7 separate regions of the Homo sapiens genome follow, and regions 1, 3, 4, 5, 6 and 7 are each linked to region 2. The links are contacts of gene promoters, found by promoter capture Hi-C in blood cells and fetal thymus (Javierre and others, 2016). All regions are on one chromosome and are shown on one strand. The core of a region is centred on a gene start or on the middle of the fragment in contact, and the rest is flanking DNA. Distances in the headings are between cores, read along the strand shown. Region 1 overlaps PSMG2 (proteasome assembly chaperone 2). Region 2 holds the start of LDLRAD4 (low density lipoprotein receptor class A domain containing 4). Region 3 holds the start of MIR4526 (microRNA 4526). Region 4 overlaps FAM210A (family with sequence similarity 210 member A). Region 5 overlaps LDLRAD4 (low density lipoprotein receptor class A domain containing 4). Region 6 overlaps LDLRAD4 (low density lipoprotein receptor class A domain containing 4). Region 7 overlaps FAM210A (family with sequence similarity 210 member A).

Evidence for each region. Contacts are between HindIII fragments. The CHiCAGO score rates a contact against its expected background, and 5 or more counts as called.
Region 1: a fragment that was not itself captured here is called in contact with the fragment with the promoter of LDLRAD4 in region 2 in 1 of 17 cell types (fetal thymus); the score reaches 5.6 in fetal thymus.
Region 3: a fragment that was not itself captured here is called in contact with the fragment with the promoter of LDLRAD4 in region 2 in 13 of 17 cell types (fetal thymus, non-activated CD4 T cells, M0 macrophages and 10 more); the score reaches 37.9 in fetal thymus.
Region 4: a fragment that was not itself captured here is called in contact with the fragment with the promoter of LDLRAD4 in region 2 in 16 of 17 cell types (naive CD4 T cells, non-activated CD4 T cells, activated CD4 T cells and 13 more); the score reaches 18.0 in naive CD4 T cells.
Region 5: a fragment that was not itself captured here is called in contact with the fragment with the promoter of LDLRAD4 in region 2 in 14 of 17 cell types (activated CD4 T cells, M1 macrophages, fetal thymus and 11 more); the score reaches 15.8 in activated CD4 T cells.
Region 6: a contact is called between a fragment that was not itself captured here and the fragment with the promoter of LDLRAD4 in region 2, in 13 of 17 cell types (M0 macrophages, non-activated CD4 T cells, megakaryocytes and 10 more). The highest score is 16.0, in M0 macrophages.
Region 7: a contact is called between a fragment that was not itself captured here and the fragment with the promoter of LDLRAD4 in region 2, in 6 of 17 cell types (non-activated CD4 T cells, naive CD4 T cells, M2 macrophages and 3 more). The highest score is 8.2, in non-activated CD4 T cells.

What each region holds. Positions count from the first base shown.
Region 1 is chr18:12,724,975-12,727,862 of GRCh38, reverse strand. PSMG2 (proteasome assembly chaperone 2) reads right to left here. Exons shown (of 7, transcript NM_020232.5): 7 at 2,123-2,424. The coding sequence ends at 2,332. Among named protein-coding and RNA genes, the nearest start is that of LINC01882, 23 kb to the left of the region's middle. The HindIII fragment of the contact is 7,922 bases long and covers 1-2,888 here.
Region 2 is chr18:13,217,510-13,220,531 of GRCh38, reverse strand. It overlaps LDLRAD4 (low density lipoprotein receptor class A domain containing 4), which reads right to left and starts at 1,772. Exons shown (of 7, transcript NM_001378100.1): 1 at 1,544-1,772. RefSeq lists a silencer at 2,612-2,981. The HindIII fragment of the contact is 2,786 bases long and covers 1,602-3,022 here.
Region 3 is chr18:13,610,083-13,612,972 of GRCh38, reverse strand. All of the region lies in intron 4 of LDLRAD4 (low density lipoprotein receptor class A domain containing 4), which reads right to left. It overlaps MIR4526 (microRNA 4526), which reads right to left and starts at 1,859; the gene lies at 1,773-1,859. RefSeq lists an enhancer at 120-349. The HindIII fragment of the contact is 1,087 bases long and covers 877-1,963 here.
Region 4 is chr18:13,662,073-13,665,096 of GRCh38, reverse strand. FAM210A (family with sequence similarity 210 member A) reads left to right here. Exons shown (of 4, transcript NM_152352.4): 4 at 1-1,750. Among named protein-coding and RNA genes, the nearest start is that of MIR4526, 52 kb to the right of the region's middle. The HindIII fragment of the contact is 3,990 bases long and covers 1-3,024 here.
Region 5 is chr18:13,587,971-13,590,697 of GRCh38, reverse strand. The region is part of intron 4 of LDLRAD4 (low density lipoprotein receptor class A domain containing 4); the gene reads right to left. Among named protein-coding and RNA genes, the nearest start is that of MIR4526, 22 kb to the left of the region's middle. The HindIII fragment of the contact is 2,619 bases long and covers 1-2,559 here.
Region 6 is chr18:13,490,054-13,493,111 of GRCh38, reverse strand. All of the region lies in intron 4 of LDLRAD4 (low density lipoprotein receptor class A domain containing 4), which reads right to left. Among named protein-coding and RNA genes, the nearest start is that of LDLRAD4-AS3, 21 kb to the right of the region's middle. The HindIII fragment of the contact is 963 bases long and covers 1,266-2,228 here.
Region 7 is chr18:13,699,765-13,702,687 of GRCh38, reverse strand. The region is part of intron 1 of FAM210A (family with sequence similarity 210 member A); the gene reads left to right. Among named protein-coding and RNA genes, the nearest start is that of FAM210A, 25 kb to the left of the region's middle. The HindIII fragment of the contact is 9,088 bases long and covers 1-2,923 here.

The DNA of each region.
Region 1 (2,888 bases), core at 86-2,585, 490 kb after region 2:
TGTGTGGGTCACCGTGCCTGGCCAGTTACAGTTATTTTTATGCTTTGTCTTGTCAATTCTGGACCAGAATTAAAAGTGCACTACCATTATAGTCCTGAAGGATTCTGCATTTGTCTATATTTAGTTTGCCAGTGAGCCTCATATTTTCTTTTTCTTTTTGGGACAGAGTCTCGCTCTGTTGCCCAGGTTGGAGTGCAGTGGCATGATCTTGGCTCACTGCAACCGCCGCCTTCTGGGTTTGAGCAATTCTCCTGCCTCAGCCTCCCGCATAGCTGGGATTACAAGTGTGTGCCACCATGTCTGGCTAATTTGTTTTTTTGTATTTTTAGTAGAGATGGGGTTTCACCATATTGGTCAGGCTGGTCGCGAACTCCTGACCTCAGGTGATCCTCCCACCTCAGCCTCCCAAAGTGCTGGGGTTATAGGTGTAAGGCACTACACTCGGCCACTCCCAATCTTTGCATACTGGCTTTGTACAGGGCAGACCTTCACCAGCTAGCCCAGGTAGAGATTCTGAAACCTCTTAAATGTTTTTCCAAGTTCAACTTTTTAGGATTGTGTTATTTCCCAACTGAAGGTTGCTGGTTTTTCATCTTGTAATCTCTTGCTCCCTCTGGTGTCTGTCTTCAGAATTGCACGTTCCCTAGTGCTGCAGCTGCAAGTCGCCCCTTTGTTCTCAGTGGCTCTCTGGCAAAGCATGACAGCTTCCTATAAGCACCCCAAGTTAGATGAGATGGGCAACAGTCCCTTGGGCAGCACTACAAAAAGCTGCAATGCTGGCGTGTAAGTTCCATTCCTCCTGGGAGAGAAAATGCAAGTTGGGTGATTTCTCTTGGTGGTGTCCAGCCACACTGGCCTGTCTGTGGTACTACAGGCTCTGGTGGCACGGCAAACGATCCTCCAACTCTCCCGTGCTTTTAGCAGACTCCAGACATCCAAAGGATGCCAGTTCTGTCAGTATTCCAAGTCAGACAAGACGAAAGAGTCAGAATCTTGGTCACATGCTCCAACGTTCTCTACCTCTCTCCCCCTCACCGAGTCTGCCCCCTTCAACCCAGGGAAAAGCCAGGAGCTGGCGTACTCGCCATCATGCTGGGCTGTCATCCTGGGTGGAGTAAAGTGAAATGACTCTTCTTACTCATTTCAACGTGGCTGTTCTTAATTTTGCACTCACCTGGGGATACTGCAACTTAACTGGTTTCTGGTATCCTGGTCTATAAATTAAACTGGTGTCTCTGTGGGGTAATGAGGACTGGTACTTCCTATTTTGCCATCTTGCTGATGTCAACCCCCATTTCATATTTTAACCAAAAGGGAAACAGAAATAGGCCACAGAATCCAGCATGATTTACATATCAAAAGGAAACCTTTCCGGAGTGCTGGGAAGTAGTTGTATCCTTAAATATTACAAGCCCTTGTGTTACAGATGAGAGAGCCAAGGCACAGAGGTAACACAGTGAAATCGTACATCCCAAAGACTAGGGGTGAACAGTGACTAGTATGCAGCAGGCACTCGAAAATGATAACTATTTTTATTATTTCTTTTATAGTAAAATTATTCTAAAATGGGGAAACTATCCTGGATTATTGGGGTGGGCCCAATGCAATCACAGGGTCCTTTTATAACTGAGAGATTTGAAGATGCTAAGCTGCTGGCTTTGAAGATAGAAGGGCCCATGAGCCAAATAATATGGCAGCCTCTAGAAGCTGGAAACAGCAGAACACAAATTCTCCCTAAGGCCTTCCTCAGGAGCAGTGCCCTGCGATCACCCTGATTTTAGTCTCGTCAGACCCACTGTTGGATTTCTGACTCCTAGAACTCAGAAGTCAGAATTTAAAAGCAAATTTGTGGCTGGGCATAGTGGTGTAATGCCTGTAATCTCAGCACTTTGGGAGGACATGGCAGGAGGATTGCCTGAGCCCAGGAGTTTGAGACCAGCCTGGGCAACATGGCAAGACCTCGTCTCATTTTACTTAAAATACAGAATGAAAATTAATTAATTAGTTAATGAAAAAATTAAACTGGTGTGTTTTAAGTCACTAAGTTTGTGGTGATTTATTAGAGACAAACTAGGAAGCTAATAGAGAGTCTGAAATTAAAAAAAATACATTTAAGACAAAATTACTTAGGAAATAAAATTTTATTGTACAAAATTTACATTTGGTGCATATGATGAAAAGCATGGCAAAGAGACCCTTAATCTTTTTTCTTTGATATTTACTGTGAAAGTAATTTCCTAATACCAGATCATACAATTTTTTTGTATAGAATGTTTAACAGCTGTGTTGGTAGTAAGTGTTTTGGGTATAAGGTATAAAACAGAAATTAGATCAGAAAAGTGCAGGGGGAAGACCACTGCCAAAGAGTAATCTCCAAGAACTTGGTATTTTCCACCGTGAGGCAGATACTGTGGGGTCATCGCTCTGTAATTGAAGAACAAAATATTTTAATCTTTAAACTTTACCATCAAATCTCCTTTTAAAGTGAATTATAAAACTCTCCTTTTGTGTTCCTTTTGGTTGGCACTTTTATAGCCAGGTTTTATTGTTAAGGAAAAATAAAGTTTCTTTGTCTTCATGTCAACTGAAGATAAATTTCTTTAAGTTCCAAATTATAAAGATATGCCAGAAAGGCTGTAGATGAAGTTTATTAGGGAAAATCACATTCAAAAAGAATAGGGATTAAAAAAAAAATCAGCATTATGTGATTTGTATCAATTTGTTCTTGGCAAAAGCATGAATTAAAAAGCTAGTTACCCATCTTAGAAAGCAGCCTTATGCTCAGTGTTCTGTTATGCCTAAAGGCTAACTCACTTCCCTGGGTGTAATGCTCTCATTTCATAATAGAGAAAAATATCAACTGTAATACATATTCAATAGCTACAGTA
Region 2 (3,022 bases), core at 523-3,022:
TGCCAACAAATTGGCACAAAATCCCTTAATAAGCAGCTGGCACTGGCTGCGTTCCACTGCAGGATTGTGGTCTTGCAAACCAAGCCCATGAGAGGATTCAAGAGACAGCCCTAAAAACCTGCCGGGAAGAGTCTTCTCCAATGTAAATACAAACCTACACGAACCAGGACCATGGCCAACAATGGCAAGCCCTTCCAAGGGTAACAGCAGAATGTTAAGAAATTAGAGAGGTCATTTAAAACAAGGGAGGAAGGTAGCTACAATTCCATTACAGCAAATCCCTTACTGGCATTTACATTCCCAGCCCTAATTCCTAACACTGTGTTCAATGTCAATAGCAAAATGAAGCTCTTAAAAAGAATTAAGCTTTCAAAGATCATAAGGAAGTTAGCCCCCTGTTTTAAAAAGCACTGCTTAGAAAGGTCCATCAAATAACATTTCAAGGGTTGATGGGAAACCAAATATAATTCAATAAATATACATGGGTAATACTCAGACATCCTCATTTGTCTATGTAATGACTCAGATTTGACACTCTGATCCTTGACTGAACACAAAGACTATATTCCAGAAGAATTGTGCAGAGTACAAAGGGAGAGTTACAGATGACAACACACTCGAGTTAAAGACTAGAAAAGACAATACCATATACAGAATGCAGACATGACTTGATGCAATGGCAGTCTCCCTGTGCAGACTTTGCAGAACCTTCTCTGTCATTCAATACTCAGTCCTGAAGCTCCAGGGAAGATACAGAGAGGAGGATGCCATTCTTGGCTAGCCAAACCGGCAGAAAGGGCCGTTTTTAAAAGGAAGCTTCCCAGCACTAGCCCTTCGAGAAGGCACCAACCTCCTTACCAGCCATAGGACCCTATTTTTGAGAGTCAATGCTGCTCACCATCTCTATCCACCTCTACTGCAAATAACTTACTAATACTAGCGCTCAGAACCCACATTCTGTGCAGCTACTCTTACCTCACATCCTACAATGCCTAACACATAGTAGGCCCTCAATAAATATGTATTGCAATGGTAATTAACATTTAGAAAGCAGCGCTGGTCCGGGGATGAGAAGATGCCAAAATAATTAGAAAAGAGAAAAAGAGAAGGGAATAGACCAAGACACAGAGGAAAAGAAAAGAAGCAAATCAAAATTATCTAATTCTAGCTAATTAAAAAATTTTGGGGGAAAAACAAAAATCATGCTAGTTCATGCGGCTATGGGCACACAGCAACCATTCCTGTGCCTGGGCAGAGCTAAGGAGTCCTGCTTGCTTTAAAGAGCTTCTAGCTGCCCTGACTGGCGACGAGGTGTCCCTCCAGGTAGGTGACCCAAGAACGCTGTACTCTCGGATGCGCCTTCCCCCAGTGCCGCCCACCCACCATGCGTCCCTGTCGTCCTGAAAACCTCTGCCTCATCGGGAAACCTTCTCCTTTTCCAATTAAAAAAAAAAAAAAAAAAGTTTAAACAAGCAAATGCCCTCTCCGCCACGATAGCGATTTAACCTAAACCGAACCCACTGTCTTCCACCGGTGTACTCACAGGGCGCGCCCCCAGGCCCACCCGGGGCGGCGCACCGGGAAGGGGTCCCGAGGAAGCTTCCTAAAGGCTGTGCAGGGCAGACCCCTTCACAAAGGCAAGTGCCGGGCCGGGCTGGGTGCTTGTCGCTTCCTGTTTATTCCAAGGTGAGGGGCAGAGAGAAATTCAACACACGCCTGCTTCCTCCGGGGCTCGGAGACCCAGCCTAAGTGCAACAGCAGCAGCCCCAGACAATCGACTTCCCAGCCAATGCCGGGAGCTCCGGGCGGTCCCGCGACCGACGTCAACGCGCGCGGGGGGACCCGGGGGGACGCCGGGTGAAGCGGGCCCGAGGGGCCGGGGCCGGGGAGCGCGCGGTGCAGGATGCGGGACTGAGGGGCTGCGGGGCTTGGCCCGCCCCCTCCTTCCCGCAAACTCCCCGGTCAGGTCCTGCAGGATCTTCCCGCTTCCCGCTGACCTCCAGTCCCTGCCCGCCACGGCTCGCCGAGGCCTAGGGGCGCGGAGACAGTTGGGGCTGCCATCCGCGCGCCCATCCTGGCCTCCGGGCGGTGCAGAATTCAGTCTTGCAACCGCGGGACACCCTGCGCCCCAGGGCACCAGGAAACAGAAAACGGGGTGGGGGTCGGCGAAGTCCCTCCACCGGCGTAACCCCGCCCGCGGGCCAGCCCCGGATCCCCGCCGTGCCCACCGGCAAGCCCACCCGGACCAAGCCTCACAGACCTCGCGCGCTCGGCGCCCAGCTTCTCCCTCCGGCCCCAGCCGACGGCGCAGGCTCGCGGACGTCCAGTTCCCAAAGCGTCCGGTTCCCGAGTCCCCCGCCACCCCTCCCTCCGGAGCGCAGCGGTGAACTTGGGCCAGAAGCCCCGACCACTGCGGCCACCTCGGGTCCGCACTCACCTGGGCCGCCCCCCCGGAGCGGAGGCGGGGACTGCCCGCAGTGCGGCTCCGCGGCCACCGGCCCTGCTGGCCAGGGGGAGGGGCGCTGTGCGGGGCGCGGCAGGGGGCGCGCGGCGGGCCGGCGGGGAGCGCGGCGCGCCGGGGTTCTTTAAGAGCTGAGGACCTCACCCCCGGGCCTCCCCCGCGCTCCCCGCCCTGCTTCCACTTTCCCAGGCACCCGCAGCCTGTCTGGCTGCAGCGGCGGCAGCGGCTCAGTGGCTTGCAGGGGATCCCCGGCCGGCCGCGGCGGCGCGCGGAGCGGGCAGGGCCAACGCACTCGCCTGCTAATCCCGCCGGGCCCGGTCCGCAGCCTCAGCGCGGGGAGAGAGGGGACGCGGCGCTGCGGCCGCCGGGGAGGTGTCCCGCCTCCAGTCGCCGGAGGGGGGAGTGTCCCGCCTCCCGCCGCCGTCGCCGCCGTCTGTCTCCAGCCGTGACTGCGCGCCGCGGCTGTGTCTGTCTCCAACTCCTCCAGTCTCTCCTCCTCCTTCCCACTCCGCGGTGGGGACCCGGCGCGCGGCCAGGCCGCGGGTACCGGGGCCGCCGTGG
Region 3 (2,890 bases), core at 171-2,670, 390 kb before region 2:
AAAAGCCTGACATGCATCTTCCTAAAGGGAGTCCCACCCGGAAATGTTCTGAGTTGACAGACCCCTCTTAGGTAGAAAGAAACTTCTTGAGAAAGAGCTTCTCCTCTTCTCAGCTCTGTCCTCAGACCAAACTCCAAGAAGAACCACAGCAAACCCGAAAGAGCATGCATCATCCATAGCAGTTCTTGGGAAATGTACCTTTTTTTAAGAACAGGTCTTTGAACTGAGCCTCCTTCAGTGTGCTGTTGTTCAGGTGGTCACTGGACATAATCAGGTCCTCTGCAAGTGGGAGTCCAACTGTGACGCAGCCCCCCCACGTTCAAAGCATCCCTTCAGCTTCCGGCAATCTCCTCTCCAGGCAGCTCAGAGCTGCAGTTATAGCTGGCATGGGGTGTGGGAGAGTGTGTGAGCGTGGAGGGGGGGGGGGTGTGTTTCTGTCTGCCTCGTTCACTCTCTCTCTACTGTATCAGCAGGGCCCACCCCAGGTGCTAGACTCAAATGCTGTGGCTCCGACCGCAGACTGTGGCTACCAATTATCAACTGCCATCAACAGAAACCAGGAGCTCTGCGGCAGGAAGCCGGCCGTGTCACCGAGCAGAGAATAAGTCCGGGGTCTCCGATCCTGAGACCAGCTGTACACCCAGGGCACTACTGTTTACAGCAACGTCTATCAGTGAGCAGTCTGCACTTCTCAGGTTTGGCCTCACACCTGGACGTGTCACACACACAGGCAAGCAGAACGCAGCTAGACGGCTCATCTTGTCACACTGCGTTCAGTAATCTTTTCAACAGGCAAATATCAAACCAGTCCAGACAGAAAGGAGGAAATCTGCAAGTCTCACACAATACTCCTTCCCTTGATCTCTGCTGGAAGCTTTCAGTGTGGAAGGACCGGAGAGGGCGCTTACCAAGGCAGGACACGCGACAGGCGGGACGCTCACGTTAGGCTCGCGTGCTTCTCCCCTGCAGATCCGCTCCCAGAGCGTGCTCGCCCGGCTGGGAGCACCCACAGCGTCCCTCAGGCTGCGAGCCAGGCTGCGGGCTGTCCTCTTCTGGTGCTCCCTCTCCACATCCTCTAACTGATGGGAGCAGCTCCCAGCGGCTCTTGCCACCGAGCTCTGTACTGGCAAGGCGTGAGGTCCTAACCGCAGCAGGAAACACTGCGCGCTCCTTTCCCCCCGGCTCGCTCTTCCCTCTTGGCTCTCCCATTCATTCCCTCTCCCTCTGCCTCACATCATTATTCCCCATGTATGGTAGCACAAAAACACCACAGAGACTCCTTCAAAGTCAGGATGCTCAATGTTCCTAGGCAGTTTTAGTTTATAAGGATCAGAAATTAGAGAACAGAATCCCAGGCAATTCAAACATGAAAGCAGAGACATGTCTCAGGAGGGCGCTTTCTCCTGGTTCATTTTGTTCAAGCACAGTCTCTTTTCCCCGAGGTCTAAACAGTTTGTTTCATCTGAGTGTAAAACATCTCCCGTGCATTCGGATGCCCCCAGGCTGTGTGAAGAAAATTCAGGGCAGGCTGCGAGTCTGTCGCAGTTTTCAGAGAAAATCACGGGGTGGCCGTGGTGGAAAGGGCAGCCTGCCATGGTAACGCTGCAAATAACCCCCACCACAAGCACTGCCGGGAGCCCAGAATAGCCTTTGTTTTTCCTTATTTAGGGTAAATAGGAATGACATGTGGGCCATAACAATAGTTTTGGCTGTAGGAGGAGTTGTCAAAGCAAAACTAAACTCTGTTGGTTACTACCAGCGTTAGAAGCCAGGACAGTGACGTTAGCGGCCAGCCCTGCTGTCAGCCCAGCACGTCACCTGGGGCATGACAGCAGGGACTGGGCCCTGATGTCACCGCAGGGTCCTCCAGGTGGCTAGAAGACATCACTTTCTCATGTTCTCATTTTTGGGGGCAGGGGCAGAAAAGCAACAGAAGAACCACCCAGAAGAGTTTCCAGAAGCTTCACGTGGATAAAAGGAAACCAGAGAATTTCAGCAAGGAAAGTGACCATTTATTAATATACAGCCGCGAGGGAAATCCGGATGGTATGATTCTTCCTGAGCAATTTCCGAATTAAAAATGGAACTCCCCTCCCTGTGCCAGACTTTCCCTGACTTCTCAGAGTCACCCTGCTGGGTGAATGAAGAGGGAGTCACCCTCAGAAAGAGGCAGCTTCAGAAAGAATTAGAAGCTGCAGCCACTTCAAGCCGCCCCTCCCTGGCTACCAGCGCCCCTTGTCCCTGGAGCCCCGAGGCTCCTTGCCACCTGGGCCAGCACTTCCTGGTCAGGCTCAGTCACATGATAGGCTTGCCCTCAAGCCAGGGCCTTAGTGAGGAGCGCTGTAGGCCACTGTACCTGTCTGTTTCTTAAAATTAGGGCTTTGTGGGGCAGGCACGGTGGCTCAAGCCTGTAATCCTAGCACTTTCGGAGGCCGAGGTGGGCGGATCACCTGAGGTCAGGAGTTCAAGACCAGCCTGGTCAACATGGCGAAACCCGTCTCTACTAAAAATACAAAAATTAGCCAGGTGTGGTGGCACACGCCTGTGATCCCAGCTACTCAGGAGGCTGAGGCAGGAGAATTGCTTGCAACTGGGAGGTAGAAGTTGCCATGAGCCAAGATAGGGCCACTTCACTCCAGCCTGGGCGACAGAGTGAGACTCCGTCTCAAAAAAAAAAAAAAAAAAAAAAAAAAAAAAAAAAAAAAAATTAGGGCTTTGGTGAACTTCATGGAACTGGAAAAGTTCTTCTCTCCTTTGCTAATGAACATATTTGCATTTTGAAATGGTTATAAATAGCCCGCTCTGGGATTTAACATGGTGTAAAATGAATATTTCATATATAAAAAAAGAAAATCAACATTTTTTTCTTTCATTTAACGGCCATCAGCTA
Region 4 (3,024 bases), core at 2-2,501, 450 kb before region 2:
TAGAGATGGGGTTTCACCATCTTAACAAAGCTATCATTAAATCATTTGCTTGTAATGAAATTCAGCCGTTGTCAGCTGTGAGCGTTGCGGGGCTGGTGGGGTGTGTTTGAGTATGTAAGTGTCTATTTCCTGTGCTCTAACAGTGACTATTTCAGTTCTAACCCTTCAATTGCTAATTGGATGAGGGAATGGCCTCTTAGATTGTCCTTGTTTTGACTTATCTGCTAAGGCGAGAGAATGTCTGGGTTTGCCACACAGTCCCGCAGGGACCCCTGCTCTTTGCCAGGATTTTTATATCAAGTACTTAGTTTGGCCAAATTTAGAGTATAGTTTAAAGGGGAAAAAAAGTTTGTATTTGATGAGTCTAATTACTATATTAGAATGCTTTTTAAATGAATATGCTGTGATTGGAATCTCTTCTTGGGGGCCGGGGAGAGTGCTGAGAGATGCAGCTGTGTCTCTGCTCTCTGCAGTCTTGGGCAGGCAGCACCGCTGTCTCCTGATACAGAGGGTTGAATGCACTGCTTCACATTGATGCCACATTTTCAAATCTAAACATGATTAACATGTTTTTTAAGTATTTATCAAATAATTCACATTTTTGCAGGTTTAAGTGCTGTTTTTTAAGATATTAAACATGTTCCTTGTTTCTTTTTTCTTTTTAACCACTGGAGACTATGTGAAAATCTTGTGTTATATGGAATTTTTCTAAAACAATTTCCTTTTACTTTTCATGTTGCATATTTTCCAGTGGGGATAAATTGGAGGTTCTTATTACTAATAATCCTGAAACTAAAATTTGCTTTTCCTGCATAGACATCTTTTGTTAGTCCATTTGAGTTTTGTTGCCATCCAGTTTCATGATCATGTTGTGTTAGTCTAATAGACAATGAGTTACTGCTTGAATGATATGAAATTCTCTAGTAAAAAATGCTCTGAAGATGTGAGAAGCTCTGTTGTATTACTTGGCACCAGGAATGTTACAAAAATGTTGTTGCTAGCATATTGCTAACCTAGTCCTTAAGTTTCAGGGATTCCTGTAATATGTTGAGTTTGGAGTATTAATAGCAGGCTAACAGAATACAGTACCAATATGCCAAGTTAAATAATTGAGAATATATACAGTATAGTTTGCTATGTATAATAGACCTCATTTCATTTACAGTACACCTCACACTTGGGATTAATTCACCTATAACCTCTGTGAACTGCGAGTGCTCGGCAGAAGCAGCCCTGTGTCTTACATGTCTACATTTATATTTATATTTATATTTATTTTTTTGAGACAGAGTCTCACTCTGTCACCCAGGCTAGAGTGCAGTGGCATGATCATAGCTCACTTGCGTCTTGAACTCCTGGCTCAAGTGATCCTCCCACCTCAGCCTGCTGAGTAGCTGGGACTACAGGTGCACACCACCATGCCTGGCTAAAGGCATGTCTGCATTTATGCGAGGTGTGTTGACCGGGTGGGGAGGGAGCTAGGACTGAGATTCGCCTGTGTAAAATGCACAAAAAGGGTTTGCTAAGCAAATTGATATTTGAAATGAAAGATGGATTAGGTGAGAGACTTAGTTTATTCAGGAATAAGAGCAAAACCAACCACATCAAAAAATGTATTTCACTGAGACAGCCTTTTGTACATACAGCAGGGTGCTGTTTACAGATTTCAAGAAAGGAGAAAAAGAATGCTTATACTGAGATTACCTACCTCCCAGTAGTGAAAATAATAAATTTATCCCTTGAAATATAATCGTGTGTTTATTTGTCACAGAATCTACACTTACTTACAAATGCTTTATGCTCAGGATGAAATGGAGATACTGGCTCTCTTGTTTCAGTGATCTTAGATGATAATTCCAGGAATTTTAAAGATATATATATATATATATATTTTTTTTTTTTTTTTTTTTTTTTTTTTTGAGACAGAGTCTCGCTCTGTCGCCCAGGCTGGAGTGCAGTGATAACGATCTCGGCTCACTGCAAGCTCCACCTCCCAGGTTCACGCCATTCTCCTGCCTCAGCCTCCCGAGTAGCTGGGACTACAGGCACCCGCGACCATGCCCGGCTAATTTTTTGTGTTTTTAGTAGAGACGGTTTCACCGTGTTAGCCAGGATGGTCTCGATCTCCTGACCTCGTGATCCGCCCGCCTCGGCCTCCCAAAGTGCTGGGATTACAGGCATGAGCCACCGCGCCTGGCCTTAAAGATCTTAATAGTATGCGCAGAAAGATGTTTGAAGAAAAGAAGGAAATTGTATATTTGACACACTGAGCTTCTTTCTGTGTTCTTAGTGTTGGGTTTGGGTCATTCAGGATTTCTTAACCAATTCAGACATGAATCAGGCTGCTGTAGAAGATAGTAATTACAATGGAATGGACAGAAGATGATTTTTAGCCAATGAGGCAAAAAAAGTCATCTTTCCTGCTTTTTCTGAAATGATATGTTGAGAAGATGTTTTTGTGAGATACACATTTCTGAATTAAAGGATTCCTTCTGAAAATATAACTTGTTAGGTAATGTGGACATATTTTTTCTGTTGGCCAAAGTTCATTTTTTGAAATGGGGGCCTTCATTTATTTTTTATTTTCAAAATTGAGTTTCTATAAGGCCTAAAATAAAATAGATTAAATGTCACCAAAGTTGTTTGTACCTGTTTAAATATCTTTTTTGCAAGCCACTTACATTTTTTGGTACTGAAAGCTCACTACTCAATTGTCCTTATGAGCATGGAGGTGTCTCAGTGTGTCTGATCATACTGGCCCAGATGCCTGAGTGGCACATGTGCACTCAGAGAAGTGGGAGCCTCTTTGCTGCCTGCCTTGGAATTCAACCACCTGAGCCAGAAATCTATAGAACCAGAGGTGGGGAATTTTACCTATTCATTTTGCAGATGTTAACATTGTTCTCTTTTGGATCATTTGTATGTTATGTAGTATTAAGTTAGTACTAAATGAGATTGCAGAACGTACTGCATCATGTTCCCTGAGGACAATGGGAGTCAAGACCTCATTCTTCCTTTCTGGAC
Region 5 (2,727 bases), core at 1-2,500, 370 kb before region 2:
GGGAGCTCCTTGGGTCTCGAGGCTAATCACGCACAAGAAACAAGATGTAGCCTTGTCAGCCAGAACTTGGTTTTGGGTTAAATTGTTTGCAGAGATCAGAAATGCTGTAGATTTGAAGAGGAAAAGACACCAGTGAGGACTGTGTTGGACAGAGGAGGGGTTGCAGCAGAGCTGGCCTTCGGGAGCTGCAGGGCCGTGTACATTCTGAACAGTCACAGGCACACAAGAAGTGGCATGCTCACATGCGCCATGTTTCTGATTTGGGGCCATTTGATTTTCTGCTACGTATGAGTGGGCTCTCCGTGTGCAGGCGCACACACACAACACGTGCACATACACGCACACGCACACACACACACTTACCCCCCACATACACATACCAACACACGCACATACACCCCTATCTCCCCCACACTCCATATGCACACACATATATACACACCTATCCCCCTCACATGCACACACTTATACCCACACACCCTCCCATACACAAACCCTTACCCACATCTCCTTCCCCCGTACTCCATATACGCACATGCGTACCCACACCCACGCACACCCACACATGCACACCCACGCACATGCAGTCACACACATGCACACTCACACCCACACATGCACACCCACACACATGCAGTCACACACATGCACACTCACACACATGCACACCCATACACATGCACAGCCACACACGTGCACACCCCCACACACGCAGCCACACACATGCACACCCACTCGCACACCCAATGCCTGCCTTGTCTTTCCCCACTGGCTTTTGTGACTCAGATTGCAGGGCAGGCCCAGCACCCCCGGATCAGAGACCCCGTCTGCCTGTCACTCCTTGGGCCCCTCCATTCCCTCCCTGCATTCACCTCTCCTGGGCGTCATAACCTCTCAACACCTCTTTCCCTTTCCTCCCAAACCCTCTTCTCCCTTCTCTGAGCTGCTTCTCTCCTTTAGACTTTCCTTTCTTTCTGACTTCACCATCTGAAGAGTGTCAGGCCCTACCAAGCAAACTGGGCCATGCCTAAGGGGACACTGGGGGAAAGGGCCATGCCTGAGGGACCCAGCCTGGGGGAAAGGTGGGAGTCCAAGGCCACAGGGCTGCAGGTCTCATCCAGGGCTGACTCCTGTGTAAGAGGACACAGTGGCAGGCCACAGCCATCCCAGGAACACACCAGCAAGGCTCCCCAAAAAGCCACGGTGATGGGAGCGGAAACCCTGGTCAAGAAATAAGAAGCAACTCCTGCAGTCTCTCCCTGGGTCTCCACGGAGGATTTGCAAACGAAAATGAACAGCTGAAGCCTTCCTAGGTAAAACTCAGTGTGCCATGGGGCCCCATGTACACAGACCAAGAGCCCACACAGAAAAGGCAGCTTGCAGTGGCATCCAACCATCATTTCACCTGCCTTCTCCCATCACAGTTTGGGGACAGAAACCAACCACAGAAGAAAAAAGATGGCAAGCTGGGCATGCTGGCTCATTTCTGTAATTCCAGCACTTCAGGAGGCTGAGATGGGTGGATCACTTGAGGCCAGGAGTTCGAGACCAGCCTGGCCAACACAGCAAAACCTCATCCCTACTGAAAATAAACAAATAAAAATAGCTGGGCATGGTGGTGCAACCCTGCAGTCCCAGCTACTCGGGAGGCTGAGGCAGGAGAATCATTTGAGCCTGGGAGGCGGAGGTTACAATGAACCAAGATAGCGCCACTGCACTCCAGCCTGGGCGACAGAGCGAGACTCTGTCTCAAAAAAAAAAAAAGAAAAAAAGAAAAAAAAAAGAAAAGGAAAAAGATGGCAGAGTGCTAGATGATTCCGCAGAGCTTTCTGAGTGAGCACACAGCTGAACGGGTGCATCATGAAATGTAAATTTTGCTGGACTGTAGGATTAGGGAAGCCACTTTCTCTGAAACAAGGTCAAGATAGTTTCAAGAAACTAGCGGTGACATGAGTGGATTGTGTCGACAGCACAAGAACAATTCAATCCTAAGAACACAGAGGCCAAAAAGTGTTTTCAGAAATGGAAGCTGCGTACAAAAACACCCGGCGAGTAGCAGAGGGAGAAAAGGAACTTGCTGTCCCTTCGCTTGGTGAGGTAACAACCAGAGACCCTAAAAAAAATAACATGCTAAGGGCAAGGGAGGAAACTGAAATTTAAAAAATAATGAATCGTTTTGATCACATATTTTAAAATACATTCCTTAATGAAGCCCCATCTGTAAATTTATTTGTAATATTTCACTGAAAAAAGATAAAATTCCAAACATTTTCAGAAAATGAAGAAATCAATAGATTCATTTCCCAGCCTTCAAATTTGTTATGTTATGTATAAATCTCTGTGTAAAAAAGTATCACTCCCACTGGTCCATTCAGAATAGAGAGGTTCAAGATGAAATTATTGAAAAGGAGAAGGAGAAGAAAGCCCCTCCCAAGCAGGTGCTAGAGAAGCCACAGGCCCCTTACCCACGCACAGTGAGACCACTTAGAGCATACATGTCACCAGCTTTCAGCTTCAAGCCAAAATAATTCTGTCTTTTCACAGTATTTTCACAAAGCTTCTCAATGGGACAGGAGGACAAAGAAATTATTCTTCTGAGAATGGTTTTTTTTTCCCGATATGAATAATCTCAGCACCACATCCTCTACAGGAACCAAGAAAATGGTGCGACTCATACAAAAAGGCTTTCTGGATTCCAGATGCAGGGTGTTCCAGAAGTCTAAAATA
Region 6 (3,058 bases), core at 498-2,997, 270 kb before region 2:
AAGATCTTTCTCTCACCCAAGCTGCAGTACAGTGGTGCAATCACAGCTCGCTGCAGCCTCAATCTCCTGGTTTCAAGTGATCCTCCTGCCTCAGCCTCCCAAACTGCTGGGATTACAGGCACACACAACCATGCCCAGCTACTGTTATTTTTATTTTTGTGAAGACAGGGTCTTGCTATGCTGCCCAGGCTGGTAGCACAGCGATCCTCCCACCTCAGCCTCCCAAAGTGCTAGGATTACAGGTGTGAGCCACTGCACCCAGCCCGTTCTCCTCTATTTGCCACACTCATTTTCAAGGGAAAGGCAGGAAGAGTGGAGCTGTGGGGATGGAGAAAATGAGGAAGGGGGGTATGGCATGACCTGGTGCTCCCAGGGCACCCCACTGCCCAGGTGACTCAGGAGTTTCCAGGAGAGCTCCATCTTCTGAGCAGCTACCATTTCTCTGGAGGGATCTAAGGCCCTGGGACACCTGCTGGAGGGCCGCCCCAGTCAGTGGAGATCCCACTCCTGAGTAGGGTCTGACAATGCCCATTGGCCATCCTGTGGCCTTTTTGATGAGGCCAGGCGTTCTACGGGGCTGGAGAAGAAGGTGTTTGCCAAGGAGCTGCTACTCCCCAGCTGGACTGCAGGAAGAGTGAACGCACAGGAGCAGGCAGATTCAGACCCGGGGGGGAAGGGAGGACCAACTCCATCTGTTAATACTGCAGCCACTCCACCGGATTACAGCAATGCTGGGCTGTGAAAGGACGTCCCTTCCGGCAGAGGCAACTCGGAACCAGAAGAAACTTTACAAAGATGAGATCCCATCAACAGCCCGGGAATAGGGGAGAAATCCAGGATTCACCTTTCCGTGCACTGGGGTGGATGAGTCCTGTGGCAGGCCACTCGCATCCTTCCTCTGTGCCCCTCAGGCCTGATGGTGTCCTGGCCATTCTGGGGACAAGAGCGTGGCCTGTTTCTAGCTAGACTTGCCCGAATCGGTCTTGTCTTGGTGTCTTGGGTCTTGGTGGCATGGATCTTAGAGAATGACAAGTTGCATTTTCAGTGGGGGGCAAAAACTCTATGAAGGTAGCATAAACCATGCTACTGTATTCATTATACCCAAGAAAAACAGGATTTCAGTGCTAGGAACAATAAAGTCAGCCTCATAGTCATCCATCAATTGAATGATGGAAGCGCCTCTACTTTTCCTCGCACCAATTCATGCAAGCCTCCCGGTGGTGTTCTGCAAATTTCATTATCAGACAGCACCAACGTGCAAAGCTTTGGCCTGACGTGGTGCAGACCCAAACACTGTCACCTGATGGGAAAAGTACCAGGGTGAGAAACAGAAGATCTGTTTTCCTGGCCTCTAGTTCTGGGTCTTGTTCTTTGTAAAATGGGTGTAAAAGTCCCTGCCGGGCCACTTGACATTAACTTTATGACTGCTCATATACAAACGTCCTTGCTCCACACAAATGCTTCTTTTTTTGCTATAAAATCAAACGTTAGCATCTTCAATATAGCTTACTAAATCCCAATCACCAACACTACATATAATCTTTAAAGGAAACAGACAGAAACTAGATTCACTGGCGCCAGCTATTAATTATTTCAAACATATAAAGTATCTCAAAAAGAAATAAGTCAAACTTATTCTCACTCAGTTTCAAGTATGTCTATCTTAGGGCGTCTTTCCAAAAATCTCTGTCGTTAAGCTGGACACACACACACAGGTGCCGGCCCATGGCCCGAGCATGACGGATGCACTCGGTGACAAGCCCATGACTGACAGCCGCCATCTGATAGTGGAGGAGCAGCCGGCTAGCTGTGGGTTCCAGAGGTGATCAGCCACAGATGGAAAAGGGAGGTCTTGGGATGCTTTCATCGTCCCAGCTACCCTGCAGGTGGACATTTAAAGTAAATCATTAACAAATCCCTGTGGCAGAAATACAGTGCACCTCAGCTCACCATCAGCTGCAAGGGACTCTGCCTGGTGTCCCACAGGCTGAGTAAGGGTCTGCGGCCTTTCCCATGAGGGTGGGTCTAGATGGTAGAGAGCAGCCCCCACTACCATGAAGAGGAGCAGAGACGACTTGGCCACCCACTGTGTCCAACTAAATCCCTATGGCAGCCCAGTGATTCACTCTGAGGTTAATTTCCAACATCTGAGAGGTTCAGGCTGGAGATACAGAATATCGTCCAGAGACAGAGGCCCAGATCTAAAGGGGACAGGGGGTGCAGAAGCTTTAGCTGGACTCTCCCTGCCATGCCAATGAGCCAAGGATGTGCAAAAATGCACATCCTGCCATCTCCCTGACAAGCCTGGCCCTCCTCCAGAATGGGCCATGCTGCATGCTTTTAATATTCCATTTACTCCTTTCTGGAACACATCATTTTAAAAAACTTCCCCTGGAAACGTCTATAAACCACAGATGAGGTAAGGTTGAAGAGAGTTTGGGGCTATCATTTTATTGAGGTAAAAAAATATATACATATAGAAAAGTAAACATAACTTACAGTTTTCATAAACTGAAACACCCACGTATATTTTTTGGCTTGGACTGTGATATTTTGAAATAAAAACCTCACAAAAGGATACATAAACTGAAAAAATGTTCCATTTCAATGTAATTTTCTTGCTACCACTTCATAATATAGGTTGGGTATCCCTTATCCAAAATGCCTGGAGTCAGAAGTGTTTCGAATTTTGAACTTTTTTGGATCTTGAAAACTTGCATTATACTTACCAGTTATTCTATTATACATCCACCTTCCTAATCCAAAAATCTGAATCTAAAATGCTCCAATGGACATTTCCTTTGAGCATCATATTGTCACTTAAAATGTTTCTGACTTTTGAGCATTTAAAATTTTAGGTTATTGTTATCCGATTGGGGTACTCACGCTGTGGCTGTTGACAGAGTTATAAACATAGCTGAAGGGAATATAATAAGCAGACCACAGTGGATCACAGGAAGCCATTTGGGTCCGAGAGCTTTCACGGCAGCAGGGCAGATGGAGTGCCCAAAACAGGAGCCTCCTAGTCTCTGAAGAGCAAGCCTGGTTTTCATGCTAC
Region 7 (2,923 bases), core at 147-2,646, 480 kb before region 2:
AGCCTCCATTGCCCTTTCCAGAAGGAGTCTAGAGTAGTTAATTTTGAGCTTGCAAAGGCTTTTAACTACTCAGGATGATTTTTAGAGCTACCCGTGACATGAACCTTAAAATTCCTGTTCCCTGGAAGGCAGAGACCAAGAGTAAGTGTAGCCATGTGGTCACAGGATCAAGCTCCGAAGGAAATAAAACACGATGGAGACCTCGTACAGTTTTTTTGTTTGTGTGAGGGACCTGCAGCAAAGTTCGTTACTGACCAGCTTGCTGGGCCGTCTTGAGCAGCGGGCTTATGGGGTTTCAAGCCCGTGTTCTGTTCTAAGTTAGCTGTCTTTATGACAGAAGGATACAGGAAGACATAGCAAGCATACCAAATTGGCTGCAGCTTAAGACTAGCCTCATAAATCCTTTTTCCCATTACTCAAAACTTTACAAGAGATAGTGATTTTTACCATTCATTCAACCAGTTTGCACAGGGAGAGAGAGGTAGAAGTCTGACTGGTAAGAAAGCCTTACCCTTTTGCTGGCATGCCAGGCTTCTGAGTTCCCTTCCTCTGAGTGGCCCTGTGACCTGGCTGGCTGCACCACAGCCTTGGGGGCCAAGCCGCCACACAAAGCAAAATCATCTTTTTCTGTTTTGTGGAACCACGGGTAAAAGTCTCTTAATTTTGCAAGTTGCTGCCCAACCAGCTGCATGGGGGCGCCAAATTATCGAACTGGCAAGGTTCAAATTTGCCCCTGATTGGGCCCTGTCATCTTTAACCCATTTTTTATCCAAGAGAGACTTTACTGACAGGAGGGCCTCTAACCCAGTTCCATCCTTTACTCAAGTAAAATGTACCCCATAACTTATCCAAAGTCAGCCAATTGGTACTGCAGTCTATTTCCTTTGGATCTGGATAATAACTAAGCTAAAAGGTTAGTAGATTTAATTTCTGAGAGACCTCATTTTTAAATGCACTTCAGTGCATTGTGGTTTATTCAGAACATTCTACTGTAAGTTAGCTTTAGTAAGATTTTGCCATTCTGTAAGACTTTGCTGCTTTCTCTGCCTAATGTATAAGCTGGAAGGAACTTAGATTTCCAGAAATTGAGGATCCTATTTTGCCTAAAATGTTGGCTATAGTCTCAGGTTCCCTTGATTAACTTAGCCAATGATTTTTTTTTGCCCCTACTTAAACACACAAGAAAAATGAAACAAAGGGGTAGAACACAAAAATCCTTGCAAATTTTTAAAAGCCAAATTTTACAACCCCTGCAATATTACCATTTACTATCAGTTTCTTTCTGACCCAGTCAGATGTAAGAGGCCTCTAACTGGATCCAAACCAGTTAATTACCAGATCTAATCTGATCCTGAACCCAGTTCGATTTCTGTTGCGATTTCCAAACCCAGTTTGGACCAGAAATTTGCTCAGAGAAACTCAAGAGCTCAAAACACAAATCTGTAGAGCTCCGAAATCTGAGAGAACTTACCATGATCCCCAGCTGCTCTGAGGGATCAAAGGACACAAGTGGGTCCAGCAGGTACCTTGCTTGTTCATTCGGAGCTCCTGGAGATCATTAGAAGCTCTATTTCAGATCCCACTTCTGACACCATCTGTTAAAAACTTAGGCTGGATTACATTTAAAGGAGTTTAATTGAGCAATGAATGATTTGCAAATCAGGCAGCCCCCAGGCTCAAAGCAGATTCAGAGAGACTCCCATGTAGCCACGTGGTGGGAGATTTATAGACAAAAAAAGGGAAATGATATACGGAAATCAGAAGCAACGTATAGAAACAGCTGGATTGGCTATAGGTTGGCATTTGCCTTATTCGAACACTTAGCAGTCTATGAGTGGTTGAAGTATGGCTGGCCACTGGAATTGGTCAAGACTCAGCTATTGTACAGGTGCATACTCCTAAGTTTGGTTTTCAGTCTTGTCTGCCTCTTAAGCTAGGTTACAGTTCACAAGGACTCAAATATAGAAGTATGGAGTCCTTCTTAGGCCATATTTAGTTTGCTTTAAGAACTTCAAATCTGCCTTCCCGAGAGGTTTGGAGATGAAGATTTTAAGGATTCTGGACAAGTGATGGGCTAAAGTGTGGGGATTGCTGATTAATCGAGAAGTGAGAGGTAAAGTCTGGTGACAGGGAGATGAAGAAACTACATTCCTTTGCTGAGTTAGTTCCTTGGTGGGGGTCTTCAGACAGTTTGGTGTCAGCTGTTTTGCTGGAATTCAGGATCTGGAAAACACCTTAACCAATTCTTAGGTTAAAAGGTCCGGTGTCAGAGATTCTGTCTATAGGAACAGCAGGGAGTAGGTGGTTCAGCATGCTATGTGACTCTCAGCAGCTATAGGGAAGTGGGCCAGAGTGCACCAGTGCATGCATCCTGGTCAGGTCCTAACTATAATTCTGCCTAAAATCTGGCTTGTAAATCTTATTAGTTTCTCCAATGGAAGGGTTATCAAATTAATTGAACCCAAGGTGGGAACTTGAATGTATAGCCTGTTGAGAAGTATGGGTAACAACTTACTACTTGTGATTTGCATCTGAAGTGGGGAGTAGGAGTAGTCTTGTGGGACTGAGCCCTTGATCTGTGGATTCTGACTCTTAACTCAAATAAGACAGTGTTAGAATTAAATTGAATTATAGGGTACCCAGTTGGTGTCCTCTAGAGTATTGCTTGATGTGTGGAGAAAACTCCTTCACATTTAGTTGTAGAAGTATTCTACATTGAGTGTGAGAGTAGAGAGAGAAAAAGAGTTTTTTTACCCATAGTGTAGGATTTTGCATGGTCACCCAAATTAAATAATGGCAAAAGTTTAGATGAAGGAAGAATATGAGCTTGGTTTGACCAGGTCATAGATGAGAAGATGAAGAAGGGAGCTAGAACTAATAATTATTGGTAAAGCATAGTAAGTGCTAGACACTTAACCAGCTC